Linked DNA regions of Homo sapiens: all the other regions are linked to region 5. The links are contacts of gene promoters, found by promoter capture Hi-C in blood cells and fetal thymus (Javierre and others, 2016). All regions are on one chromosome and are shown on one strand. The core of a region is centred on a gene start or on the middle of the fragment in contact, and the rest is flanking DNA. Distances in the headings are between cores, read along the strand shown.

Evidence for each region. Contacts are between HindIII fragments. The CHiCAGO score rates a contact against its expected background, and 5 or more counts as called.
Region 1: a contact is called between the fragment with the promoter of TMEM95 here and the fragment with the promoter of TP53 in region 5, in 2 of 17 cell types (naive CD8 T cells and total CD4 T cells). The highest score is 5.9, in naive CD8 T cells.
Region 2: a contact is called between the fragment with the promoter of SPEM1 here and the fragment with the promoter of TP53 in region 5, in 1 of 17 cell types (naive CD4 T cells). The highest score is 5.3, in naive CD4 T cells.
Region 3: a contact is called between a fragment that was not itself captured here and the fragment with the promoter of TP53 in region 5, in 4 of 17 cell types (fetal thymus, naive CD4 T cells, megakaryocytes and 1 more). The highest score is 7.0, in fetal thymus.
Region 4: a fragment that was not itself captured here is called in contact with the fragment with the promoter of TP53 in region 5 in 2 of 17 cell types (fetal thymus and naive CD4 T cells); the score reaches 5.8 in fetal thymus.
Region 6: a fragment that was not itself captured here is called in contact with the fragment with the promoter of TP53 in region 5 in 4 of 17 cell types (fetal thymus, naive CD4 T cells, neutrophils and 1 more); the score reaches 9.4 in fetal thymus.

Annotation. Positions count from the first base shown.
Region 1 is chr17:7,353,872-7,356,758 of GRCh38, forward strand. It overlaps TMEM95 (transmembrane protein 95), which reads left to right and starts at 1,285. Exons shown (of 7, transcript NM_001320436.2): 1 at 1,285-1,502; 2 at 1,715-1,771; 3 at 1,967-2,047; 4 at 2,158-2,178; 5 at 2,325-2,405; 6 at 2,521-2,608; 7 at 2,728-2,887. The coding sequence starts at 1,334. The coding sequence ends at 2,761. It overlaps KCTD11 (potassium channel tetramerization domain containing 11), which reads left to right. Exons shown (of 1, transcript NM_001363642.1): 1 at 1-1,073. RefSeq lists enhancers at 826-1,352, 1,353-1,879. The HindIII fragment of the contact is 23,288 bases long and covers 1-2,887 here.
Region 2 is chr17:7,418,892-7,422,020 of GRCh38, forward strand. SPEM1 (spermatid maturation 1) reads left to right here and starts at 1,433. Exons shown (of 3, transcript NM_199339.3): 1 at 1,433-1,637; 2 at 1,736-1,796; 3 at 1,990-2,741. The coding sequence starts at 1,494. The coding sequence ends at 2,714. It overlaps NLGN2 (neuroligin 2), which reads left to right. Exons shown (of 7, transcript NM_020795.4): 7 at 1-969. RefSeq lists an enhancer at 917-1,436. The HindIII fragment of the contact is 12,172 bases long and covers 1-3,129 here.
Region 3 is chr17:8,056,503-8,059,716 of GRCh38, forward strand. No RefSeq gene overlaps it. Among named protein-coding and RNA genes, the nearest start is that of ALOX15B, 19 kb to the left of the region's middle. RefSeq lists enhancers at 1,175-1,692, 1,176-1,245. The HindIII fragment of the contact is 2,579 bases long and covers 650-3,214 here.
Region 4 is chr17:7,393,071-7,395,992 of GRCh38, forward strand. It overlaps PLSCR3 (phospholipid scramblase 3), which reads right to left and starts at 1,455. Exons shown (of 8, transcript NM_020360.4): 1 at 1,407-1,455; 2 at 1,034-1,197; 3 at 531-766; 4 at 397-439; 5 at 74-294. The coding sequence starts at 1,040. TMEM256-PLSCR3 (TMEM256-PLSCR3 readthrough (NMD candidate)) reads right to left here. Exons shown (of 10, transcript NR_037719.1): 3 at 1,838-2,020; 4 at 1,034-1,197; 5 at 531-766; 6 at 397-439; 7 at 74-294. RefSeq lists a silencer at 1,343-1,832. The HindIII fragment of the contact is 7,925 bases long and covers 1-2,922 here.
Region 5 is chr17:7,685,778-7,688,883 of GRCh38, forward strand. It overlaps TP53 (tumor protein p53), which reads right to left and starts at 1,713. Exons shown (of 11, transcript NM_000546.6): 1 at 1,600-1,713. WRAP53 (WD repeat containing antisense to TP53) reads left to right here and starts at 2,700. Exons shown (of 11, transcript NM_001143992.2): 1 at 2,700-2,784; 2 at 2,871-3,106. The coding sequence starts at 2,872. RefSeq lists a silencer at 74-133 and enhancers at 434-563, 583-1,130, 594-643, 604-1,803, 2,602-2,651. The HindIII fragment of the contact is 572 bases long and covers 1,459-2,030 here.
Region 6 is chr17:7,324,601-7,327,674 of GRCh38, forward strand. It overlaps NEURL4 (neuralized E3 ubiquitin protein ligase 4), which reads right to left. Exons shown (of 29, transcript NM_032442.3): 2 at 2,840-3,074; 3 at 2,565-2,630; 4 at 2,111-2,409; 5 at 1,837-1,948; 6 at 1,655-1,743; 7 at 1,041-1,113; 8 at 609-873; 9 at 199-380. Among named protein-coding and RNA genes, the nearest start is that of NEURL4, 3.2 kb to the right of the region's middle. The HindIII fragment of the contact is 518 bases long and covers 1,414-1,931 here.

The DNA.
Region 1 (2,887 bases), core at 35-2,534, 330 kb before region 5:
GCTTGTTCTTGCCTAAGGCTGAGCACCTCCAGTCTCTCCTTGATTTGGAGCTCAGTGTTTAAGGGCTTGGAAAAGGGGGGAACATCTCTTTACCCAGACTAGACCTAGCAAAACCCTGGAAGGATATTGAGGTCTGGGGAAAAGGGAGGACTTTGCATTTTCCCAATGCGGTCTCTTGGACCATGGCTTCTACTCCTGAAGCTGGGTGGCCTGGCCTGGCCTGACCAATGAGAGGCCAGAACACTCTGGAACATCGGAAGAGGAGTTCTTTGCTATGTTCCAAGCCATCTACTGAGGGAGGCAGAAAGGCCACAACCCACCCTAGGTTGATGTATGGGAGCTAGGACAGTCCCCATGGCAATGGGGCTGGAGCATCCCTCATCTGGAAGAATCCCATACTGATGGCAGGGCTGGCCAGGGGGAAGAGGGTAGTATCTGTGGGTCCTGGCCTTTCTTCATGTGTGCGTGCATATCAGCCCGTGTGGCTGACTGATGTATAGGTCCCTGGCATCCTGGTTCATATCTGTGTTGCTGACTACAGTGTCTGTGATGTCCGCATGTCCAGGCCTGTTTGGGGTTGCCTAGCGACTCTTCTGGCACAGGGTGTGTCTGTGGTATACCTGTGAGGTGGTTGACAATTAGTAGTTTAATCACAGGGTGTGTGTGTGTGTGTGTGTGTGTGTGTTTATGTGCACGCATGTATATGCATCACCACGTAGCCAGGAGGGGCCTGTTGGGGTTTGAGTCACTGGGATCTTCCTGGTGAGAGGTAAGAGAAGTCACTGGGCTTAGCTGGGCCTCTGAGGCCTGTATGGAACTCTTGGTTGCTGAGGCAACCATGGACCTGTTGCTAGGAGATAGCTGGGGAAGGCCCAAGGCCGCCCAGGGCAGAGAGAGGAGACGAAGAGTTTGGGACAGTGGGGGAGGAGATGGGAAGGGATGGGATTTCTGGGTCCCAGAGCGGGTGGGATACTCACGCACAGCTTCTTCACTGGTGGGGGGTGGGGCACACATTATTTCTCACTGGTCATGATTTACAAGAAGAAAAATAAAACTGCTTTTGGAACCACAAACTTGTGAAGGCTGTTGAGGGCCAGGTTGGGGGTGCTGTCCCCTCACAACAGAAGCCCTGCTTTCTCTGCCCATCGCCTGCTGGAGATGCCTTCTGGACCCCAGTTCCTTGAGCCCCAGCTTTACCCCAGCTGAGGATGGGCAGTGCCATTGTTCATTGTTCTGGAACATTCTAGAACCTCCAGGCAAGGGCTGGAGCCAGGGCTGCAGAGCATTCCTCGGCTCAGCTGGGGCAGCGCCGCCCCATCCCCCAGTGGTCCTCATGTGGAGGCTGGCACTAGGCGGGGTTTTCCTGGCAGCCGCCCAGGCTTGTGTCTTCTGTCGCCTCCCAGCCCACGACTTGTCAGGCCGCCTGGCTCGGCTCTGCAGCCAGATGGAGGCCAGGCAGAAGGAATGTGGGGCCTCCCCAGACTTCTCGGCCTTTGCCTTAGGTAGGACCAGACATCCAGGGATGGGCCCAGCAAGCACTCACCCCCCTACCCCCAGAGGGTGGCATGTGACCTTCCAGCTGTGCCCTCCATCTGTGGCCCTTTCTGGACATGCTGGCCTTTCCCTCTGAGAGAGCTCCATATCTGGGAAAGTCAGGAGAGACCCCAGAACCTGGGCTGATGAGGGAATCGCTGGTCCTTGCCCATCTCCACAGATGAGGTGTCCATGAACAAAGTCACAGAGAAGACTCACAGAGTCCTGAGGGTCATGGGTGAGGTCAAGGGGAAAGAGTGACCTAGGGGCTTGGGAGGATACCAAGGAGAGGGACGGGTGACAGGGGTTGGGGTGGGCAGGGAAGGGTGGAGGGGTAGAGACAGGAGGGCTGATCAGGGAGGGGCTGCGTGAAGAGAGGGGGAACTGGCCCCGTCGAGGCCCAGGGAAACGGAGCTGCTGTCTGCCTCCCCAGAAATCAAAGAGGCTGTCTCCTCACTCCCTTCATATTGGAGTTGGCTTCGAAAGACCAAGCTCCCTGAGTACACCAGGGAAGGTACCGATGCGGGATGGGCCTCAAGGGGAGCCTAGGGTCTTAACCAAAGGAATGTGTGGTGAGCAGCTCATCCATTCACACCCCCACCCCTTCCTTGTCTTTCATTTCAGCTCTCTGTCCCCCCGCCTGCCGTGAGTAGGAAAGGAAAGGGGTAGCAAGGACCTGGGGCCTGCAGGGTGTCAGAGGAGGGCCTGGCAGCTGCAGGAGGAAGCTGGGTACCAGGCAGGGTGGAGGCCCGGCCTCCCCTCCCCAGCGTTGCCTCTGCTGTCTCCTGCAGGGGGCAGCACCACGCTGTACAACTGCTCCACCTGCAAGGGGACGGAGGTGTCCTGCTGGCCCCGAAAGCGCTGCTTCCCAGGTCCTCACGCCCATCTTGGCCCCGCCCCACCTTGCCCAGATCCCTGAGCCCTTGGGCTCCCAAGTCGGTGCGTGTGGGTCCCAGAATCATTCACTGCCTCCTGGGTTCCCTGCAGGAAGTCAGGATCTTTGGGAAGCCAAGATTCTGCTCCTCTCCATCTTCGGAGCTTTCCTGCTTCTGGGTGTTCTGAGCCTCCTGGTGGAGTGAGTTTTGGGATAAAGACAGGAATCCTACCCCGCCCAGTGCCTTCCACCACCCATCCTCCCTCCCTCTGTCCCTCCCAGGCCCCTCCCGTAGGCTTCCCACCCTCGTCTTCCCTCAGGTCCCACCACCTCCAAGCAAAAAGTGGCTTGTGAAGACGCTGAAAACCTCCCAGCCTCCAGCTCTAAGGGGTATGCACTCACAACTTCCACATCCCTTGGAGGGGAACCAGTCAGCCCCTTAGTCCCAGCTCCAAAGACAGTCTCCAGACCCTAAAACCC
Region 2 (3,129 bases), core at 183-2,682, 270 kb before region 5:
CGGAAAGACTCCCAAAATGTGCCAAGAATTTCCCAGTCCCAGGCAGGGCAGGGGAAACTAAGGGCAAGCAGGATACAGGGCGAGGGATGTGGCAGGTGAGGGGGCTCCCGCCTGTGCCCCTTCTCCTCACCATGTCTCCCCCACCCTGCCTCAGTTCTCCGTTCCCCTTCATCTCCGTCCCCCTCTTTGAAGCTGTCCCCATCTCAGTGTCAGACCAGCCTTCTCCTCAGCTGACCACCCTCCTCTGACCCACGCCCCCTCCTTGTCTGAAAGAAAGGAGCCTTGAATGGTGGAGGGAGGCAGTGGGGAGAAAGGTCTCACCGGACAGGTTGGGAGAATGAGGTCAGCGGTGCTGGGGAACAGATGGAGGGGGCAGTGGGGACAGGGCTTGGGCAGACACCAGCAGGAATAATTTGAAATGTGTGAGGTGACTCCCCGGAGGGCCTTGGGCTTGGGCATTTGGGAAAAGAATGATGTCTGGAAGGGCTTAAGGGACACAGTGGACGAGGGGAGAGTCCTCATCTGCTGGCATTTTGTGGGGTGTTAGTGCCAAACTTGAATAGGGGCTGGGGTGCTGTCTTCCACTGACACCCAAATCCAGAATCCCTGGTCTTGAGTCCCCAGAACTTTGCCTCTTGACTGTCCCTTCTCTTCCTACCTCCATCCATGGAAAATTAGTTATTTTCTGATCCTTTCCCCTGCCTGGTCTAGCTCCTCTCCAAACAGCCATGCCCTCCAAATGCTAGAGACCTGGGCCCTGAACCCTGTAGACAGATGCCCTCAGAATTGGGGCATGGGAGGGGGGCTGGGGGACCCCATGATTCAGCCACGGACTCCAATGCCCAGCTCCTCTCCCCAAAACAATCCCGACAATCCCTTATCCCTACCCCAACCCTTTGCGGCTCTGTACACATTTTTAAACCTGGCAAAAGATGAAGAGAATATTGTAAATATAAAAGTTTAACTGTTGGTTGTGCCTGCTCTGTTGTGGGGAGGGCGGTCTCTAAAGAAACAAGCCCTGGGGAAGTGACGAGGGAGGAGGGGTCTTTTCAGTGACCAGCTCTGAGGTCTGAGAGGAAGGGGGAGTGTGTGCTGGGGTCTGGTTGCCATGGTAATGGGTCTGTTTGGCAAATGAATGTCAGGACCCGTGTCTATGCCGAGACTGGAGCCTGGTGTCGTTCTATAATGGAAGGACAAAGGCTGATGGGGGCAGATGTCAAACAGGCCAGAGGCCCAGTGGGCTGGTGTAGGCAGCTAGCTCAGCAGAGGTATGTGAGGTGAGAGGCATGGCCTCTGCCAAGGCCTGGACTCAGGCGAGAGGGTCAGCCACGGGTCCAGGACTCAGGGTAGCCCCTTGGCACACTGGAAGGGAGTGGCCTGGCACCATTGTGACCCGTTCACTCCCAAGACCCTCAGGGACAGGCAGGCAGTCAGTGGACACTGTCGGCACGGTGGGCTGGGGGCGTAAGGGCCCCGGTGGTCCTAGGGACCCCATGGCCATGGTTGAGCGGCCGAGGCCCGAGTGGGCCTCGTATCACAACTGCAACAGCAACAGCTGCCAGGACCTGGGCAACTCTGTCCTGTTGCTGCTGGGCCTCATCATCTGCATTAACATTAGCATCAATATAGTGACCCTGGTCAGGGTGGGGCCAGATGGGAGGGAGCTGGTGGGATAGTGGGGGGCAGGCCTGCCGGCCAGGGCCTACCTGGGATCACTGTGTCTTCCCCCACCTAGCTCTGGAGCCGATTCCGTGGTGTCTTATACCAAGTGTTCCATGATACCATTTGTGAGAAAGGTAAGAGGTCTGGGGGCTGGGACATAGGAGGGGCAGAAACCAAGTGCTCTAGCCTCAGCCCTAAATTAGCCCCTTCCCTTCTTGCTCGCCCCTCTCAGACAACATAGCTGTGTGGCTGCCCTTCCTGGGCCCTGCCTCTCCATGCCTGTAGGAGCTGGCCTCCCCACTAGTCTCACCTCTCCCCCATCCACAGAAGCTCCCAAGTCATCATTACTCAGAAAGCAGACCCAGCCCCCTAAGAAGCAGAGTTCTCCTGCAGTCCATCTTCGGTGCACCATGGACCCTGTGATGATGACTGTGTCCCCGCCCCCAGCTCACCGCCATCGCCGTCGAGGCTCTCCCACACGCTGTGCTCACTGCCCAGTAGCTTGGGCTCCTGACACTGATGACGAGAAGCCTCATCAGTACCCAGCCATCTGCTCCTACCACTGGGATGTCCCTGAGGACTGGGAAGGCTTCCAACACACTCAGGGGACCTGGGTTCCCTGGTCTCAGGATGCCCCAGAGTCCCCTCCCCAGACCATCCGCTTCCAGCCTACCGTAGAGGAAAGGCCCCTCAAAACAGGCATATGGTCCGAGCTGGGCCTAAGGGCCTATGTGTATCCTGTGAACCCCCCACCTCCCAGCCCTGAGGCTCCTAGCCACAAGAACGGTGGGGAGGGGGCGGTGCCAGAGGCAGAGGCGGCTCAGTACCAGCCTGTCCCAGCTCCCACCCTGGGCCCAGCAGTCATCCCTGAATTTTCCCGGCACCGCTCCTCAGGCCGAATAGTGTATGATGCCCGGGACATGAGACGGCGGCTTCGGGAACTGACCCGGGAGGTGGAGGCCCTGTCCGGCTGCTACCCCCTAGCCTCTGGATCCAGCACTGCCGAGGAGACAAGCAAGAATTGGGTGTACCGTTCCCTAACTGGGAGGTGACTGGAAAAAAATAAAAAGGAGAGAGGAGGTGATCTGTGGTGGTGCTGGGGTGCCAGGGCCCACACAGCACCTAGAAGCTGTGGCTGTGAAGAGAATGCTCTCCCTAGCCACAGGGCCCTGAGCCCTGAGGACCCTCATTAACCTTTTGCCCCACAGGCCTGTCCCTGTCCTCAGCCTTTCCTAGGCCCTTCTGGGTTCCAAGGCTCTTACCTGCCTCTACCTTGTTTTCAATTTTTTTTTTTTTTTGAGACAGGGTCTTCTCTGTTGCCCGGGCTGGAGTGCAGTGGTGCAATCACAGTTCACTGCAGTCCCAACTGTCTCCCACCTCAGCCTCCTGAGTCACTAGGACTACAGGCATGGGCCACTAGTTTGTTGTTGTTGTTGTTGTTTGTTCGGTTGGTTGGTTTTTGTGTGG
Region 3 (3,214 bases), core at 689-3,188, 370 kb after region 5:
TCCTCTGCAGTAGGGTTAAGGAGGAAGCCTCCTATCTCCCGCATGTTCCCAGAGGCAAAGCAGCTGCTCTGCTGACGGTGCTCAGGCGTTGACCACTCCTTTGATGTACAGGCCTGTGGGTTTGAAGGGCTGTTTGCTTTCACGTCCTGTTCTGTTCTATTAGCCGCTTAGTTGGACTCTGATGATTATCTGTAAGTTAAACATAGAGTATTAGCTTACGTAGTGGAACAGTAAATAGTATTAACTGGCTAATGACCGACACAGCAGGCTCCGCCACCTCTCCCTATGCTCACCCAATGATCACCTCACCATCAGCCCACCCTCAGCCTATAGGATCAAAGGAACTGTACTCAATAAATATCAGTGGAACCCAGAGCTCCTGGCCTTTGCAATCTCCACGTTGCGATGGATCCTTGGACCCACTTTTGTTAACTCTTAAACTTTGTGTCTTTGTCTTTATTTCTTTTCTCATTCCCTCGTCTCCACCGGGAAGGGGAGAGCCTGCGGGTGGTGTATCAGGCAGGTTCCCCTACATCTTTGGCACCCAACACGGTCTCCTTGAACCCAGGTGAAGTTACACCTGAGCGTGGTCGTTGTGAAGAACGGTCTGTCCAGGAACTCCCGAGAACGTGTGGTCGGCCTTGCGGTAAGCTTGTGCACTCGGAGCATTCCAGGGACACCATGGGACAATCCAAAAGTAAACATTCTGCATATTTACATTTTATTAAGCTCCTCTTAAAGAGGGCAGGAATTAAGGCTAGCACAGAAAATTTGATTACTCTGTTTCCAACAGTAGAGCAATATCGTCCTTGGTTTCCTGAACATGGTACCATGGACTTCAAAGATTGGGAACAGGTGGGAATTGCCTTAAAACAAGTTTGTAAGGAAGGAAAATTTATCCCCCTAACAGCCTGGTCAAACTGGGCTATAGTTAAAGCAGCCTCGGAACCGTTTCAATCGGAAAATGAGGCTTATCCTCCAGCAGAAAGAATTTCTGCAGAGGAAGGTGGTGATGCTGCTGAAGGAGGAGAGGATAGTGAAGAAGATTTTGAGGAAAATACAGACAAACCTGGAGATGAGTTAATTTCTTTTGAGGAGCACGTGGGACCTTCAGCTGCTCCTAAAATAGAGAAGCCATATATGCCAAGATGTTTAAAACAAAGAAGGGCCTTGAGGAGCAGTCGGCTCCTCATTGGGATCATCCGGAGTGGCCGCCTCCAATAAAGCAATGTAGCTTGGAGCCTTGGAGGTCTGAATCTCAAATTTGCCCTGTTTCACGAATGAATGAATTGTGGCCTCAGGAACCACGAGCGCATGGTGTAGCACCAGTACAACATAAGGCTGCACTGCCATCTAATGTTAATGAATCGCCATTACAGTTTACTATTCGGCAGGCTAGATTAGCCGGAGATCTTGATGCCTGGCAGTTTGCAGTAGTTTTGCAACCCCCACGACAGCAAGGTGGAGCCCATCAAGCGGTATGGGAACCATTTTCTTTTAAGCTGCTCAAAGATCTTAAAGCAGCTGTTGGTCAGTATGGTCCCAATTCGCCTTTCATCCGATCGCTATTGCAATCTGTGGCTCAGAATAAGCTATTGACTCCGTGTGATTGGGAGATTTTAACGAAAGTTACACTTTCGCCCTCCCAATTTCTTCAGTTTAAGACTTGGTGGACCGACGAGGCTCAAAATCAAGATCGAAAAAACCGTGCTGCTAATCCTGCTATTGCCATTACATTTGAACAACTTCTAGGAATAGGGGGTCAATGGGGAACTGTAAACAACCATCAGGACTTCGAGATGATGCCATTGAACAAATTCGCAATTGCTGTTTGAGGGCATGGGAGAAAATTCAGGATCTGGGAACTACTTATCAGTCTTTTAATTCTATTAGACAAGGCTCAAAGGAACCATATCCTGATTTCATTGCTCGCCTTCAAGACGCAGCACAGAAGGCTCTCACTGATGAAAGTGCCAGGAAGGCCGGGTGCGGTGGCTCATGCCTGTAATCCCAGCACTTTGGGAGGCCGAGGTGGGCGGATCACCTGAGGTCGGGAGTTGGAGACCAGCCTGACCAACATGGAGAAACCCCGTCTCTACTAAAAATATAAAAATTAGCCGGGCGTGATGGCACATGTCTGTAATCCCAGCTACTCAGGAGGCTGAGGCAGGAGAATTGCTTGAACCCAGGAGGCGGAGGTTGCGGTGAGCCGAGATCACGCCACTGCACTCCAGCCTGGGTAACAAGAGCGAAACTCCGCCTCAAAAAAAAAAAAAAAAAAAGAAAGAAAGAAAGAAAGTGCCAGGAAGGTGATTGTAGAATTATTGGCTTGTGAGAATACTAACCCTGAATGCCAGTCAGCTATTCACCCAGTGAAAGGAAAGGTTCCGGTGGGAGTTGATGTGATTAATGAATATATCAGGGCATGTAATGGAGTTGGTGGAATCATGCATAAGGCTATGATAATGGTTCAAGCCACGACAGAGTTAAAAGTGGGAGGTCCAATTAAAAACTTTTCAGGCAATTGTTACAATTGTGGGCAATTTGGACACACAAAAAAGGAACGTAAGAACAAATCGAACAAACAGGCAAGATATAATCAAATAAAAGAACCACCTGGCTTATGTCCCAGGTGCCAGAAGGGTAAACATTGGGCTAATCAGTGTCACTTCAAATTTGACAAAAATGGCCAACCGTTACAACCGCAGTCGGGAAACAGGAAGAGGGGCCAGCCTCAGGCCCCGCTCCAAACGGGGGCATTCTCACTCCAGCAGTTGGTCCCTCAGTCGGTCATTGCCTCTAGTCCAACCACCATCATTGTCTCTTGCCCAACCACCACAGTAACACAATTGGCGCCAGCTACAGCAGGGAGTACAGGCTTAGATTTATGTTTCCCAAAAGCTATCTCTCTGCTTCCAGGGAAATCCCCTCAAAAAGTCCCCACTGGAGTATTTGGCCCTTTACCTGATGGACAGTTGGACTTGTTTTAGGAACATCTAGTCTAAACTTAAAAGGAGTTCAGATTCATACTGGGCTGATTGATTCAGATTTTGTGGGAGAAATTCAATTGGTTATTAGTTCCAGTATTCCTTGGAGTGCAAACCCAGGAGATAGAATTGCTCAGCTGTTGTTATTACCTTATGTAATAGTAGAAAAAAGTACAGTAAAAAGAGAAAGTGGTTTTGGCAGTACTGACAGTGAAGGAAAAGCAGCC
Region 4 (2,922 bases), core at 219-2,718, 290 kb before region 5:
CTCATCTCAGGTGGACCTCATCATTGTCCCGCCCCACCAAGGCCCGCCCTCCCGGCCCCCTCCCTCCGCCCACCTCCTGGAGGCCACAGGGGCAGCAGCTGCAGCCACAGTGCAGCGGGCGGAGCAAACGCAGCACCTCACGGTCCCCGGGGTCGGCCAGGCGGACACGCAGCGGCCGGCGGGCGCCACAGCACAGACGGGCGCAGCAGTTGCTCTCCTCGGCCGCCTGACCCAGGGGCTGCCCGGCCCCAGAGCGCAGTTCATACCGATTACAGGTCTCCCAGCCTAGGAACGCTGCCCGAGGTGACACGGGGAGACTCGTAGAGCCTCGCGCGCCCAGGAGCCCACCATCCGGGCCACCATCATGAGGTCCAACCTCCCACTCCTTCTACTTACTTTCCACTCGCTCAGCCTTCTGGTGAATCAAAATCTGATCAATCTGGAAAGAGAGGGGCGGCGCGCACATCAGCTGGCCCATCTGGACGCCCAAGTCCCCTCCCAGTCATCCTCCCTCCCTCCTTCCCACTCACCTGCACCAGGAATTCGAGGCCAGAAGGCACCCCTGGCAGTGGCAAGAAGGGGGCAGCAGACCCCAAGGCCACGGGGCCAGGCGAGGGGAAGAGGGCGAAGCCGGGAGCTGGGGCAGGTACCTGGGCGGGCACTGGCGCCTGCCCGGGCCCAGGATGTAGCGCCGGCTCCGGGTACCCAGGGGTGACAGGGTAGGGAGGTGGGGGCGAAGGGGCGTAGCCTTTGGGGGGCAAGTAGCCTGTAAAGCGGTGGGAGCAGGATAGATTAGAAAGGGACTCAAGGCCTCATCCCCTTATTCCTCAGCCCATGGGCCGCGAGGCTTCGGGGGAAACGTGGTGGCAAGAGGCAGAGAAAGATGGGGCAGGGGAGCAGGGTGGAGGTTCCCCGGAAGGAAGGGAGGGGCCCCACCCAGCCAGTCCGAGCACATTCCGGGAGGATGTGTTCAAACCCGGCTCCCAAGTCCGTGGGGGGGATAACGGAGACCCCCAGACTTGCGCGCACTTACCTGCCATGGGAGAAGGGCTGGGGTTTTCGAGATGATGGTGTCTGGGTGGCTTAGTTCTGGAAGCGGAGGCAAACTCGGAGATAGCCAGACAGACACAGAGACAGACACAAAGACGGAGAGGCAGCTGCGCCCGGCGCCGGCCCAGGGTCTCTTGGGCGGCGCCTCTGACTCGGGGAGAAACCCAAGTGTCAGTGGGCGGGACCGGGTACCTGGGACCCTGGATTCCCTCGGGGGCCCCAGAACCGCCCCCTCCCTTTGTTCTCCCATCCTGCGGAGGAGGCTGTGGGCCGACGGCAGGACAGATGGACCCGCGGTCAGACCGACAGCCCCACCCCAAGGGCGGTCTCCCTGACCCCTCTGTGCCCCCGCTCACCTGGAGCCCCCAGAAGAGCCCGGGTGCCTAGCACTCGGCAGCTCACAGGAGCTGGCGGAGGCGGAGGCGGGCCCGAGCTCGGACCCCGGCCCCGCCCCCCGACCCGCCGAGCCCGCCCCCTCCTGGGCGGTGCGTTTGCGCCGGGAGGAAGGCAGCCGTCCGCTGCCCCGGGAAGCCGATCGTGGGCTTTGCTCCTCGGCGTCGCCGACGTTCCCGCCCCTTCCGCTCGGACTGCAGATGCCCAGAGAGTAGGAGCGCCTGGAGAAGGCGGCGGCTGGTCCCGGGCCCCGCGAACGCCGCCAGGCCGGCGGCGTGCGTGCTCAGCGCCCTGGGTGGGAGGCGAGGGCGGCCCGGGCCGCGCTGGCCCCTGGGCTCCTCCTCCCAAGGGCAGTCGGGCCTCGCTGACGCAGCGGAACACCCTTCACACTCACTCATTGGCTTCCAGGACTGGCTCCTGGCTCGCCTTCTGCCTCCCAGGGGCGACCTCGCCGTCTTCTCTCCCTGGCACAGCGGTGACCCACACGGGCACCTCGCAGCGACAGCAGTTTCTGCAGGTGCCCCAGCCACGCGGGTGACAGGCCGCCAAACGGTGTCAGTGAGCGTGCTCAGGCCGCCTAGAGGGCCAGAGGAGGAAGCGCGGTCAGAAAAGACCCCCGAGATGAGTGTCTTCGACTGGATCCTGAGCCAGGACCAGTCCTGCCTTGGGGGCCACTGGCTGAGTGGCGCAAGAGATGAGTTTAGAAACGGAGTGCAGTCCACATACAGGGCGGGTTGTGTGGAAGCTGCGATTTGGCCCCACGAGCAGCGAGGAGTCCACCGAGACATTTTTAGAACAAAGAAGGTCAAATGTGTGTTTTAGAAAGATCGTGGCGGGGCGCGGTGGCTCACGCCTGTAATTCCAGCACTTTGGGAGGCCGAGGTGGGCGGATCACCTGAGGTCAGGAGTTTGAGACCAGCCTGGCCAACATGGCAAAAACCCATCTCTACTAAAAATACAAAAATTAGCCGGGTGTGGTGGCGGGCGCCTGTAGTCCCAGCTATGCAGGAGGCTGAGGTAGGAGAAACTCTTGAACCCGGGAGGCAGAGGTTGCAGTGAGCCGAGATTACGCCATTGCACTCCAGCCTGGGCAACAGAGCGAGACTCCATCTCAAAATAAATAAATAAATAAATAAATATTTATTTAGACATCACCAATAAGGCGAAGGCATCACCAATAAGGCGATAGTTAGGCCGGGCACGGTGGCTCACGCCTGTAATCCCAGCACTTTGGGAGGCCGAGGCAGGCGAATCATGAGGTCAGGAGATGGAGACCATCCTGGCCAATATGGTGAAACCCCGTCTCTACTAAAATACAAAAAAATTAGCCAGGTGTGGTGGCGGGCGCTTGTAGTCCCAGCTACTCGGGAGGCTGAGGCAGGGGAATCGCTTGAACCTGGGAGGCAGAGGTTGTAGTGAGCTGAGATCTTGCCACTGCACTCCAGCCTGGCGACAAAGCAAGACTCCGTCTCAAAAAAA
Region 5 (3,106 bases), core at 463-2,962:
TATGGAGATCAAAATAAAGGTGGGGTCGGGAATCGACTGGGAAGAGACGTGATGAAACGTTTCTGGGACGATGAAAAGGGTCTGTGACTTGGTAGGCATCACGGAGCGGTTAGGGGCCAAAACTCATCTTCCTGTGCACTTGCTGTGTGCACTGGCGCTGTGTGTAAATGCCACCTCGATTTAGGAAAAAGATGACGTAAGTACGGCACAAAGTGGCCGGTACGCGGCAGGTGCATGGGAAGAAACTGCGGAATGAAACAACCGCGAGCTAAGAGATGGGGCAGCGGGAGAAATGAATTCGAGTTCCGCCTCCTACCAGGAAGAACCGGCTCGGGCCGGAGGGCTGCACGGAGGACCACACGGACGCCTGCGGGCCCGCCCCTTCCGCTTCACGACGTTCAGCCTGCGTCTGGAACTGGAATGGCCTAGCCCAAAGCTAGATAACAGGTAGATTGTTTTTCCGACAAATTATCAAACGACCCATCATTGCACTCTTTCAAAATTTGATTCTCAGACGTACCCATTCTTTTTTTTTTTCCTCCGGGAAGATGAGATATACTCATTCTTGAAAATACCTCCGGGCTTGCCTTCTGCACACTTCTTTCCCTCCCTGTCTCACGCCATGGTAGCGTCCGCCTAGGTTGCAGGCGACCCGCGGGGTGGGGCACACCATTCAAAGAAGGGGAGGGATTGAGGTTTGCATCAAAACAAATACCCCTGCCTTTGCAAAGGCCATAACTAAGTAATCCAGAAAAAGAAATGCAGGCGGAGAATAGCAGCCTCCCTCTGCCAAGTAAGAGGAACCGGCCTAAAGGACATTTTCTCTCTCTCTCCTCCCCTCTCATCGGGTGAATAGTGAGCTGCTCCGGCAAAAAGAAACCGGAAATGCTGCTGCAAGAGGCAGAAATGTAAATGTGGAGCCAAACAATAACAGGGCTGCCGGGCCTCTCAGATTGCGACGGTCCTCCTCGGCCTGGCGGGCAAACCCCTGGTTTAGCACTTCTCACTTCCACGACTGACAGCCTTCAATTGGATTTTCTCCATCTAGCGGAGCCGGGGGCTGCCTGGAAAGATCGCTCCAGGAAGGACAAAGGTCCGGAAGTTGTGGGACCTTAGCAGCTTGGGCTCCCCGGATCACCCCCAAATGATCATTTCGGAATGGAGCCCCAGTTTTCACTAGGATGCCATGGGCTCTAAAATATACAGCTATGAGTTCTCAATGTTTCGAGATCCAAAAGTCTCAGACCTCAATGCTTTGTGCATCTTTTATTTCAGGGATTCCCTACGCCCAGCACCGGGTGGATGTGCAAAGAAGTACGCTTTAGGCCGGCTCAAGGTTCCCCAAAGCTCCACTCCTCTGCCTAGGCGTTCAACTTTGAGTTCGGATGGTCCTAACATCCCCATCATCTACACCCAGGTCTCCCAACAATGCAACTCCTATGATGATCCCTCTAGCCAAGCTTCCATCCCACTCACCCCCAAACTCGCTAAGTCCCCACTGCCCCACCCCCAGCCCCAGCGATTTTCCCGAGCTGAAAATACACGGAGCCGAGAGCCCGTGACTCAGAGAGGACTCATCAAGTTCAGTCAGGAGCTTACCCAATCCAGGGAAGCGTGTCACCGTCGTGGAAAGCACGCTCCCAGCCCGAACGCAAAGTGTCCCCGGAGCCCAGCAGCTACCTGCTCCCTGGACGGTGGCTCTAGACTTTTGAGAAGCTCAAAACTTTTAGCGCCAGTCTTGAGCACATGGGAGGGGAAAACCCCAATCCCATCAACCCCTGCGAGGCTCCTGGCACAAAGCTGGACAGTCGCCATGACAAGTAAGGGCAAGTAATCCGCCTGCCGGAGGAAGCAAAGGAAATGGAGTTGGGGAGGAGGGTGCAGAGTCAGGATTCTCGCCGACCTGGTGCCGTAGATACTAACATTTTGGGGTGGAAAATTCTGCAAGCCAGAGCTGTGAGGGCAGAATTGGTGGAAATCATTTTGGAGGAATCCTGCATTGTGTCAAATATGAAGGGTGGAAGGAAGAAAGCTTTTGCGTTTGCTCTCAGCTGGATCCTTTCTTCTCATCAGTTAAAATGTCATTTTTTAGGAAGGCTTTCCGTAATATCACACCCTAACGTTTTCTCCCAGATACTTTATATCACACCATCTTATTTAATCTCCTTCACAACCCTTATCACTCTGATAAGATTTATTTGTTCATTGCTTTCAGTACATGGAAACGTAAGCCTTATGAGGATATAGAATTTTTCTACTATCTTATTCATTGTTGTATTCCTGAGTGCCTATATCAGTGCTGGGTAGCAAGTAAGAGCTCGATAATAAATATTTTTTGAATGAGGGAGACAGGTCTGAAGCCTGGAGAATGAGATGCAGAAGAGGTGCAAGACCTGCTGCGCCCTCTGCAGGCGGCGGGGGGGCGGTGCAGGTGCTTTAAGAATTACCGCGGGACTCGGTAGGGGGAGCGTAGGCGCTTCTCGCCAAGATAGAAGCGTTCAGACTACAACTCCCAGCAGCCACGAGGAGCCCTAGGGCTTGATGGGAACGGGAAACCTTCTAACCTTTCACGTCCCGGCTCCGCGGGTTCCGTGGGTCGCCCGCGAAATCTGATCCGGGATGCGGCGGCCCAATCGGAAGGTGGACCGAAATCCCGCGACAGCAAGAGGCCCGTAGCGACCCGCGGTGCTAAGGAACACAGTGCTTTCAAAAGAATTGGCGTCCGCTGTTCGCCTCTCCTCCCGGGAGTCTTCTGCCTACTCCCAGAAGAGGAGGGAAGCACAGGTGGGTTTCTTTAGCTCTGCGTCGGATCCCTGAGAACTTCGAAGCCATCCTGGCTGAGGCTAATCTCCGCTGTGCTTCCTCTGCAGTATGAAGACTTTGGAGACTCAACCGTTAGCTCCGGACTGCTGTCCTTCAGACCAGGACCCAGCTCCAGCCCATCCTTCTCCCCACGCTTCCCCGATGAATAAAAATGCGGACTCTGAACTGATGCCACCGCCTCCCGAAAGGGGGGATCCGCCCCGGTTGTCCCCAGATCCTGTGGCTGGCTCAGCTGTGTCCCAGGAGCTACGGGAGGGGGACCCAGTTTCTCTCTCCACTCCCC
Region 6 (3,074 bases), core at 423-2,922, 360 kb before region 5:
ATTTCTTCCCTGAGCAGGACAAGAAAACTCTGCAGCTTCCAAGACAGCCACAGCCCTGCCCACGGGACACTCTCTAGCCACTGAATGAGTGGTCACAAGAGTGACAAGTGAAAAAGGAGCTGCAGAACAAGTGCCAGGGCTTTGGGGATAGCTTCCCCCCAAAACCCTATCCTGTCCCTGCCCTTCCTGGGAGCTCACCAGAGCGCAAGTTGGTCATGGTGGAGGGCAACTGGAGGTAGGCAGGGTTGTGGGTGGTGACACCAATTTCAATGGAGCCAGCCCATTTGTCCACCATCTTGTCGATGCGCACCTGGAACACCTCTCCATCCCGCAGGGCTCTGCTGCTCAGCACCACGCCGTGATTGAAGTCATCGGTGGCACTGAGGGCACAGCAAGTGGAGAGTCAGATCCCCAACACACGCTCTCAATGTGCCAAGGCTTAGCCCAGCAATGCCTGCCAACACTCACTGCCCCAAGCCAAAGAACTAAAGCTCAACCTCCAGGAAGCTGCCCCCGCCAGGCTCCCTCTGCCTTCCACTTCCTTGCCCCGCCCCCCCCCCCCCATTAGAATCCCTTCTTCAGGCTTCTCCCCACCCCATGGGCCATACTGGGGCCTCAGGGCAGTGCGTCCCTCGTGGGTGATGGCTGCCTTCTGCCCACAGTTGGGGTGGAAGAGCAGGCGCTCAGGTTCTGCCTGGGCGGCAGGGGCAGCACGGCGGAGAGCACCCTCGGGGGACAGCGCCCGCAGGATGGCGTTGTTTCGGCGGAGACGGTCACTGTGGTTGTTATTGTGGACGATGGTCACCTTCACTGCCATCCCGTACAAGTCCACCACACCATACACCACTGGGGGCGTCAAGGGGGTTGCCACTCCTGTGGCAGGAAGGTACGGGGGTGTGGGAGTGGACAGGGAGAATGAGGGGAGAAAGTCAAACACAGGGAGGCCAAGCACCAAAGAGAAGCAGGAGGATGAGGTACAGCCCCCAGTCCCAGCCCCACCGAAAGCCCCGGCCCAGAGGCTCTCTCTGGGCGGCCCTTACCCTGATCGATACCATTAATGAAGAAGTGTAGGGCAGAGTTGGACTTCCTTGTGAGGCCAATGTGGTCACCCTCCTAATCAAAGAAGACAAACAGTTTAGAGGAGTCCTGAGGCCTGCTCAGCACCCCACTCCACACAGGAACAACTCCAGAAGGTATTCGTGAGAGTCTCAGACCACCCTGGAGGACAGGTCCTGGGTCCTTGTTTTCCAGACATGACAATTTCCACATTTCGTCAATGCTCCACGTGAGTCAGGCACTGAGTTAAACCACCTCACAGACATTAGCTTCTACAAGTCTCAGCCTATGGAATAAGTACTACTCGTAGGCTCATTTTAGAGATTGCAGGAGGTGGGGGAGCAATCAAAGAGGATAAGCTTCTTGCCCCGGTTCGCTACTACAAATGGGAAAACAGTAAGAGGAATTCAACCATCTGACTCCAAAATCTGAGTGCTGAACTCTTGGGCAACTCAGGCTTCTAGGAAGGAACCTTTAGGTGGAAGATACAGGGACTGCCTCTAGGTCACATAGGAGACCCTGCTTGGTGCCCTGGCAGGGACACAGAGTACCTGTGGCTCTGCTGAAAGCGGCCCAGGGATCTGTGCCCCACCCTCACCTGCAACTCATCCAGACTGAATTCGCAGTACTCCCGGCGGGTGCCCTTGCCATTGGTCAGGATTCCACAGCCGCTCATCATGATGGTGCCTGGGTGATAGTGGACACTTGGGTTCGGGTACGGGGCTTCCTTCCCCTCAGCAACACCAGGCCTGCACCCCCGCCCCTGCCCGGGGCTGGTACCTGACTGGAGGTTGGTCATGGTGGCTGGGTACTCCAAACTGTTGGGGTTGTGGGTGGTGACCCCAATCTCAATGGAGCCTGACCACTTATCAACAAGCTTGTCGATACGGATCTGGCATTGAGGGACAGAAGGGAGAAGCAGGGAATGTAAATGCAGAAAGGGACCTTCAGCCCTTGGTTCTTCCCCAGGGCCCACCCTCCTAGCACCAAGGGTCAATCCCCATCTTTAGCTCCCAGGGATAAGGCGCCAACCAGACCACAGGACTTTGCACACCTCAAACATCTCATTGTCCCGAAGGGGGCGATTGGTCATGACAACCCCATTGTTGAATTCATCCAGGGGCCGCCGGCGCTCAGCCGTCTTATTATTGTTGCTGAGTTTGATGAGGGTCCCGCACTTTTCATGAAAGAGCAGGGCATCGTTGGAAGTGAGAATGGGCGAGGTGGCAGCACCGCTAGATCCCAGGCCTTCCCCTGCCGGTGGGGAGCTCAGGTTCACATTCAGGAGCCCTCCATTGTAGGCAGACAGGATGGTGTTGCTCACCACCTCAGACAGCTCCATGTTGGCAAAGTCTATAGCAGCAGGATGGAAGAAGGAAGCTCGGAAGTTGGGATGAGGCTCTACACCCCCAGACCTGGTGCCTCTCTCCCTACCCCTTCTCCTGAGGGCCCTCCCTTGTCCACCTCACTTCCCACTCCCCTTCCCAGGGCCTCCCCAAAGCCCTCACCATTATGCGACTCAAGGCTGTTAGGAAACGTCTCCGGCCGGGCCTGCGCTGGGGACACCATGAAGGCTGGGGACCAGGTGGGATGGGAGGGGAATAAGGGTTCAGTCCCTGCTTCACGGCCCATAGCCAGGAGAACCCCCCATCCTCTAGCTCCTGCTCTCCCATTCAACAGACTTGGGGATCAGGGTGGCCCTGCCCACACCCAGCCTGTCTTGTCACTCTATTTCCCCCATTCCGTCCCCACCCCACCACCACTGCCCTAGCTGTGTTCTCACCTTCATCTGCAGAGGTCCCCTGTTCAGCCAAGGCAGAGTCTTCAGTGGGGGCCAAGGGCTCGAGGGGAGGTGTGGGGATGGGAGTAGGGGGGCTGAAGCCTGGCTCAGGGGGTAGCACGGTGATCTGGGTGCACTTGCCATAAAGGTCCACGACGGCCCAGACACGAGGGGGCAGGCCTGTGGCAGCCACACCGCAATCCCGCCCATTCACCCAGAGCCGAAGCTCCCCAGCAAC